Linked DNA regions of Homo sapiens: all the other regions are linked to region 2. Evidence: promoter capture Hi-C in human tissues and cell types (Jung and others, 2019). All regions are on one chromosome and are shown on one strand. Each heading gives the region's core, a stretch centred on a gene start or on the middle of the fragment in contact. The rest is flanking DNA. Distances are from core to core; before and after follow the strand shown. Region 1 has its middle 120 kb from the start of CEP162. Region 2 holds the start of RIPPLY2 (ripply transcriptional repressor 2). Region 3 overlaps CEP162 (centrosomal protein 162).

Evidence for each region. Contacts are between HindIII fragments. The study calls those that stand out against the background at their distance.
Region 1: a contact is called between a fragment that was not itself captured here and the fragment with the promoter of RIPPLY2 in region 2, in 1 of the 25 tissues and cell types used here (lymphoblastoid cells).
Region 3: a fragment that was not itself captured here is called in contact with the fragment with the promoter of RIPPLY2 in region 2 in 1 of the 25 tissues and cell types used here (lymphoblastoid cells).

What each region holds. Positions count from the first base shown.
Region 1 is chr6:84,343,116-84,345,855 of GRCh38, reverse strand. No RefSeq gene overlaps it. Among named protein-coding and RNA genes, the nearest start is that of CEP162, 120 kb to the right of the region's middle. The HindIII fragment of the contact is 3,479 bases long and covers 1-2,740 here.
Region 2 is chr6:83,851,996-83,854,695 of GRCh38, reverse strand. It overlaps RIPPLY2 (ripply transcriptional repressor 2), which reads right to left and starts at 1,336. Exons shown (of 4, transcript NM_001009994.3): 1 at 1,185-1,336; 2 at 923-1,001; 3 at 535-599. The coding sequence starts at 1,279. It overlaps RIPPLY2-CYB5R4 (RIPPLY2-CYB5R4 readthrough), which reads right to left and starts at 1,336. Exons shown (of 18, transcript NR_174604.1): 1 at 1,185-1,336; 2 at 923-1,001; 3 at 535-599. The HindIII fragment of the contact is 6,654 bases long and covers 1-2,700 here.
Region 3 is chr6:84,186,970-84,189,669 of GRCh38, reverse strand. All of the region lies in intron 11 of CEP162 (centrosomal protein 162), which reads left to right. Among named protein-coding and RNA genes, the nearest start is that of CEP162, 39 kb to the left of the region's middle. The HindIII fragment of the contact is 6,083 bases long and covers 1-2,700 here.

The sequences.
Region 1 (2,740 bases), core at 57-2,556, 490 kb before region 2:
ATCTTGAATTAGGGCATTAAATGAAGATAAATTGATGAATTTTAGACATTTTATTATAAAGAAGTAATAGTGGACAGGACTTGATTATACACTAGATATTAGACTATGGAAAGTATCCAAGATTGCTACTTGGTTTCTGACTTAAGTAATTAAATGGATGAGCGCCGGTGTAATTCACTGAGACAGGGAACACTGTAGGAAGCTTGGAGGGAGGATCATAAATTCAATCTGAGTTTGAGGAACTTTTGAGATGTCTAAGTAGATATGCCAAGCAATCACAATATATGAGCCAGCAGCTCAGATGAGAGGTTTCTGCTTGAGAAATAAATTTGCAACATTTGGTTGTATTATTCATAAGTCAGAAATCAAGCCATGGCTATGAATGATACTGAATAAGGAAAAATTATATAGTGAAAGAAGGGAGCATAGAACAGAGGCTCATGGAACTTGAACATTTAATGTCTAGATGGGTAAGGATGAATGTTCTTTCAAGGTGGCTGAGAAGGAGGGGCCAGAGAGGGAAGAGAAAAACCAAAGGAATATGGGCCCCTAACCTCTTAATGCTTGGTTTTGATGGTATGAAGGTGTTTCAAGTAAAGAGGATGTTTCTGATAAAAAGTTGACTCCAATTTCAAATGTTTCTGATGGATTGTGTGAGATGAGGATTGAAAACTGCCCTTTGGATTTAGTGATATGGAAGTCGATGGTGATTAGATAGAGAGGTTTTAATTTAAGAAGCCAGAAAGGAGTCAGTTGAGAGGTGAGAGGTGACATAATTAGACAATGAATTTAGACTACTTTTTCAAGAAATTTTAATACCAAGGGAAAGGGACAGATAATTTGGGAGCTGGAGAGGGTTGTGTGTGTGTATGCATGCATGTGTGCTAATAGGAAGCTTCTCATAATTTCACCTGTCCCCATGAAAAGAAACTGTTGACTATACATAAGAGAGCTATCTAAGGTTAACTAAGAATTCTTTCTCTGATCCATTTCAGAGGCTTTGAGACAACAGCTGAATTGCTCATCTCATTGTCTTAGAACATAGAAAGAGCAGAGCTTGTAGAAGTGAACAGTCTCATGTATATGGGCCAGGAGTTACCTCATAAACTGCTAACCTTCTTTTTAACAGGACATAGTTTATTTTGAGCTTGACTAGGGGAAAAAGGGATTTAGGCAGTGTATCAAACTGTTCTTGCATTGCTATAAAGAAATACCTGAAAGTGGGCAATTTATAAAAAGAGAGGTTTAGTTGGCTTACAGTACTGAAGGCTGTACAAGAAGCATAGCAGCATCTGCTTCTGGGGAGGCCTCAGGGGGCTTTTACTCATGGCAGAAGGCAAAGCAGGAGCAGACATTTCACATGGCAAAAGCAGGGGCAAGAAAAAGAGAGACAGTTGTGGGGAGGGGAGGTGCCACACACTTTTAAAAGACCGGATCTCACAAGAACTCACTATGGCAAAAAAGCAAAAAGAGGATGGTGCTAAACCATTTGATATGGTTTGGTTCTGTGTCCCCACCCAAATCTTGGGTCAAATTTTAATTCCTATTGCTGGGGGAGGGACCGAGTAGGAGGTGACTGGATCACACGGGCAGATTTTCCACTTGCTGTTCTCATGATAGTGAGTGAGTTCTCACGATATCAGGCTGTTTAAAAGTGTGTAGCACTTCCCCTTTCACTCTCTCTCTCCTGCCACCATGAGAAAATGAGCTTGCTTCCCTTTTGCCTTCCCCCATGATTGTAAGTTTCCTGAGACATCCCAGCCATGCTTCCTATACAGCCTGTGGAGTCAATTAAACCTCTTTTTTTTCATAAATCACCCAGTCTCAGGGAGTTCATTATAGCAGTGTGGGAACAGACTAATACACCATCATTCATGAGAGATCCACCCCCATGATCCAATCACCTTCCACCAGGCCCTGTCTCTAATATTGGAAATTACAATTCAGCGTGAGATTTGGGCAAGAACAAATATCCAAACTATATTAGGCAGAGTCAACAAACTGGGAAAATATTTATGATCGCCTTGTATTTCTGCCTCTGCTGATAGAGGAGAGGATTTCTATCTTCTCTTTCAAGGCAGGGAAGAGTTTGGGATGGGTTATTTTTATTCTCTGCACACTCACCTATACTCACTGCTGCCCAGGAAGAATGCCTTATCTTAGAGTTCCATGTCCACTGGGCCCCCTTTCAGTAGGTAGACTCCCTGCATATAACAGAAAAATGCACATTGTTCTCTCTCTTTCTCTTTATCAGCTTCCCTACCTACAGCTGGGGAGTAAGTCAGGAGGAGCTTGAACCAAAGATTCTTTAGTTTTTGGTTCAGCAGCAAGGTTATAGAATCCTCATTAGGCTTCCTGGGGTCTATCATAATTTTGTGTTGGAGTATTAAGCAATTGCTCATATTTATATAATTAATCATTTTCTCCCCCATTTGATTAATTATCTTAGTGAGTTCCACTAGTCAGTGCTCCAAAGTGGTGAACCTTTACAGTCTATACTAAGAAATTCAATGTTAATTTCTCAGAATAAAGATAAAAATACTGGAACTGGAAGGGATATTAGAAATCATCTAGTCCAAATTCCTCATTTCATGAGGAAATTGAGCCCGGGGAGATTACATGCTTTCCCAAGGCACAAAGTTAGTGAATGGCAAATATGAAATTAGTAGTCATTATATGAGGGATTTTACTTTTGGACATATCTGAGTTTGGAACATGTCTTCATGCCTTAGTAACTGCA
Region 2 (2,700 bases), core at 87-2,586:
TGTGACTAGGAACAGTAAACTAGCTCCGCAAGTTAAATAAACTTTTGACCCTTTCTATAACCATTCTCAATAATCTTTAGGATTTTCATTACATTTCTATTTTTTCCTACTCGGCAAACTTGTAAGACTGTAACTGTTAATCCCATTCTTCCTTCCAGATTGCAAGACAAAAGCAGCATACACACTCTGCCTGATGCGAAGTCAATTTCATTCGAACCCTTTAGGATTTAAAAATAAAAACTGTTTTGCCAGCACAAGATGTCACCGCTCTCTTACCATATCATCCCCTTTCCCTCTTCGTAATATATTCATCAAGTTCACTGAGTATGTATTCATCAACAGTCCCTTTACGTGGGACCGTGAGCCCCTACCTTTTTCAATTTGATGAGTGAGAAGATAAGTAACCTTGAAGCCAGATTTTCAGAGAGAGAGAGAGAGACTGCAGGACCAGCTGCGGAGCTGGGCTGCGCGATGCCCCTGGCTCCTCCCTGGGGCTGGAGGAGCGGGAGACCTTCGGCGAGGCCTGTCACTCACCTGACTGGGTGCCTGAATTGGTAAAGCTTTCCTGAGGCTGCGGTCATTCCAGGGCCATCGGGCATCTGGAGAGGAAAGGAAGTGAATCCAGTTATCACCCACCTCCTTCTAGAAAGTGGAAACGTGCACGACCCAGTGTTCCTCGTGCCCGCTGGGAATGTAACCCCAGGGCTCTCAGCAGCCTCGCTCCCGGCTGGGTGCCTGTGGCCCATCGCTCCAGAGGACACATCCGCCGCGTCGGCACCTTTATGGCCACCGGCAGGCGGGATGTTAAGCGAGAGGCAGGACCCGGTGTCTCGCATGTCTCTCTCAGGCCCTGCGTCCCGAGAGCCCTGGTCGATCTTCTGCACCCGTGGGAGGCGCGGCCTGAGACGCGTGGCTCACTCACCGCCTCCGCGGCGTGGTTCGGCGTCTCCTCTTCTTTCTTGCCTCCGGCGTCCACCCAGGGTCTCCAGAAGCCTGCGTATCTGCGGGATAGGGGAGCACAAGGCGCGCAGAGGAGACGTGAGCCCAGACCCGGGAGAATCCACCGAAGCCGAGCGCTGGCACCGGGCAGTGGGGGATGGAGAGTTGGAGGGGAGGAGCTGGGGAGGCGCAGGAGGGAGAGACGGGGGAAGCTGGGAGGCGCAGAGCAGCGCGGGGAAGCCTACCCGGAGTCCGCGCCCGCGCGCCGCGTAGGGCCGTCGGTGGCCGCGCACGCCGCAGCTCCACTCTCTGTACCCTCTGCGCCTCCCGCGTTCTCCATGACGCCGCAGAGCTGGGCGGAAGGCCGCTGCCAGCTCGCGGGCAATCTTGACCAGTTCCAGTAGGTCCGAGACCCGAGCTTTATATAGCCCTCGCGGCCTGCTGCACATTGAGAGGTTCGCTGCCTCTCCGCCCCTCTCCCTGCTAGCCGCATAAACAAAAAGGCTGCGCGTGAAGGCGCACCGGGCTGAGCCCCGGGTGTGAACGCGTGCAACTCCCAAATGGCCCGGGACAGGGTTTTGTCGAGCGAATGTTAATCGCCCTTCGACACATGGCTGCGGAGAAAAACAACATTCGCCCGAGCAGCCAATTTCCGTGTGAAGAGGCCAGGAGGAGATGGAATTAAGCGAGTCTACACGTTTTGTGGATTTCTGCAAAAAGGCCAAGTGACTGGTTAATTGCTTGATTCGCTGGAGACTCAGGACTTGGCCTGTGGCAAATCAACTGGTTCTGCATCCCGTGTTCTAAAAGCTGGGATGCAGACTAGAATTCAAAGGAATAAACTTAATTCCTCTTCATGGAACAATTTTCTAAAAAATGGGGAGAATGCATGGACTCCTTAAGAGAGGAATGTCGGTTTTTTAAAAAAGTATTGATAAACTAGGTTCATACTCCAGCCTATTATTATTTGAAGATAATAGAAAATTATTGGCAACAAGAGGTAAATTGTAAAAGATTCGCTGTTCTGGCTAAGAGAGCCAGAGACTGGAGTCATGTGATTTGGGCATAGAGCTCTAAATTATCTTCTCGTGTCTTTTGTGATTTTCCCCAACATTTTATCAGTGTCCTCCTACAATAACTTTTGAGTTCGTCTATACACCTCTGTCACTACTTGGTATTTTGTCACTCAATGGTAATTACAAAATTCTTTTTTGAGGGCAGTGTTGTGGAATGATAATGAAATCTTGAAAAGTTATGATATGAGACAAGTTAATCAAACGTCTGCACCCCTGTTTCTCTGATTTGAGTTACCCCTCACTTATCTACCACTAAACTTTGTAAAAAGTGTTATGCATCGAGGAAAAGATGATATATAAATGTTATAATTTTTTTCAAAATGTTTTAAATAATAAAACTGGACTTTCTCTTAAAAGTTTAGACAAAAATCTTGATTGTAAACTATAGTTGTCTCTGCTATTCATTCAGCTACTGCATAGGAAAATAATTTAATTATTAATAGTAGCTAAGAGCCTATAATGATCTACCTGCCAGGAAGGTGAGATTTGGGTTGCTTCTGATAAGAAAATCAGTAAGGATAGATACCTAATGCATGTCTGCATCCCCTACAGTTATTGTTAGGCTAAATAAAATAAAGCTTATAAAATGCGTTTTGCAGTGCCTGGCATATAGTAAGCCTTCAACAGATTTTAAGCTACGTAAAAAAATATAAGGCCTTAACAGATGTTAACCTTTCTGATAAAA
Region 3 (2,700 bases), core at 95-2,594, 330 kb before region 2:
AGGAGCCCATGGAGTGGGTGGGAGGCTCAGGCATGGCGGGCTGCAGGTCCCGAGCCCTGCCCTGTGGGAAGGCAGCTAAGGCCCGGCGAGAAATCGAGCGCAGCGCCGGTGGGCCAGCACTGCTGGGGGACTCAGTACACCCTCTGCAGCCACTGGCCCGGGTGCTAAGTCCCCCATTGCCCAGGGCCAGCAGGGCTGGCTGGCTGCTCCGAGTGCGGGGCCCACCAACCCCATGCCCACCCGGAACTCCAGCTGGCCCGCAAGCGCCGCACGCAGCCCCGGTTCCCGCTCGTGCCTCTCCCTCCACACCTCCCTGCAAGCTGAGGGAGTGGGCTCTGGCCTTGGCCAGCCCAGAAAGGGGCTCCCACAGTGCAGTGGGGGGCTGAAGGGCTCCTCAAATACCACCAAAGTGGGAGCCCAGGCAGGGGAGGTGCCGAGAGCAAGCGAGGGCTCTGAGAACTGCCAGCATGCTGTCACCTCTCACCAGCTACTCGGGAGGCTGAGGCAGGAGAATCGCTTGAACCCAAGAGGCAGAGGTTTCAGTGAGCCGAGGTCACACCACTGCTCTCCAGCCTGGTGACAGAGCGAGACTCCATCTCAAAAAAAAAAAGTGGGCAAGGACATGAACAGACATTTTTCAAAAGAAGACGTGCAGCCAACAAGCATTTGAAAAAATGCTCAACATCACTAATCATTAGAGAAATACAAATTAAACCACAATGAGATGCCATCTCATGCCAGTCAGAATAGCTATTATTAAAAAGTAAAAAACAAAAAAAAATATGCTGGTTGCAGAGAAAAGGGAACATTTATACACTGCTGGTGGGAATGTAAATTAGTTCAGCCATTGTGGAAAGCAATTTGGCGACTTCTCAAAGAACTTAAAGCAGAATTACTATTCACCCGGCAATCTCATCATTGGATATATACCAAAAGGAATATAAATTGTTCTACCATAAAGACATATGCATGCATATGTTCATTGCAGCACTGTTCACAAGATCAAAGACATGGAATCAACCTAAATATGCCCATCAGTGGTAGACTGGATAAAGAAAGTGTGATACATGTACACCATGGAATACCATGCAGCCATAAAAACGAATGAGGTCACGTTCTTTGCACCAACATGGATGAAGCTAGAGGCCATTGTCCTAAGCAAACTAATGCAGGAACAGAAAACAAAATACTGTATGTTCTCACTTATCAGTGGGAGCTAAACATCAAGTACATATGGACAGAGAGATGAGAACAACAGACACTGGGGCCTACTTGAGAGGTTGGGAGGAGGGTGAAGATCGAAAAACTACCTATTGGGTACTATGCTTATTACCTGGGTGTGAAATAGTCTGAACACCAAATCCCCGTGAACAATACCCGTATCCCTGAACCTGGAATAAAAGTTTAAAAAAAAAAAGTTCTTTGCTAGACAAAGGTTTTAAATCTGCTTTAATATTTGATTCCTTGTCCCTCTAATTTTTTTCTCTGCGTTTATTTGCAGTTCTCTGGATATTTGGGGAAACAATACTTAAATGTGAAGATGACACTCTTTTTTTTTTTTTTTTTGAGACGGAGTCTCACTCTGGATGACACTCTTAATATGATCTTTGCTAAGGGACTGGGTCACTCTTTTCAACCAAGAAGTCTCTTGAAATCTTGCTTTTTCATAGCATTCTTCAAGGCTGAATCTTACAGACTGAGTCTACAGAGAGAGAACCCATTTCCAGAGTTTCTAGATTCCTTCTATTCTCTTTAAATTCTGCTTACAAACCAGCTCATTCTGTGTTGAGCTCATCAGTTTTTTGGTAATATCTTGTTAAAAGAAGCTAATAGTAGCCAGCACTTAACTCCTTGTTCTTTCCAGTCATTTCTCTTAGTTCTCCATGGTCGGCTGGCATGTGGTCTGCCTTATAAACTTTTGTAGATGACAGTTTAGCAATGTTTTGCCACTGTAAAACATAGGCTGCCGTCTCTCCAGACTCTAGTTATCAGTTTCCTGCCATCCTAAACTTGACAACTAAGCCAGTAACAAATAAGTTGGGTTCTTAGCATCATAGCACTCACATTCTAAAGGGAAAAACTAGTAAATGGTCCCATCTAGATGGAAGTTGGCAAGGAAATATAGTTTAGTTGGTACCCAGCAAGAATGAGAAACAATTTTGATTAGCATCTAGCCAGGTTCTGCTGCTATGAAGAAGGAAAGAACTATTATATTTCTGATGATTCCACCTACTAGCAGTTACCAAGAAGCCAATCTACATTATATGAAAATGGTAGCCTCTTAAACATTCTTTAATCTTATTTTATAAATTATAAAATTAAATGGCCTAATTGACACACGATTAAATATTTTAAGACTAACAGTTCCCATATTTTTGGAGACCCTGTAGTTTGCCAATATTTAACCGCATTTAAAACATTTCCTTACGTTGTATCTTCTAGGTATTTAATATCTAATTGAATTGTTACATTTAAGTGTTTTAAACCACAGAAATGATTTTCTTTTCAAAGCCTAGTGATTTTTCTGTTTTACATTAAAATTTTTCCTATACTGTGATTAAATATATGCTTTTTTAGTATTTATACTCTATGCCTCCTTAATACAAATTTATGATTATTTCTTTAGTTTCTTCTAGAAATGTTTAAAATGTTTTTCTTATTTCAAATGCATGTCGACTTTATAAGAAATTGTAGATAAAA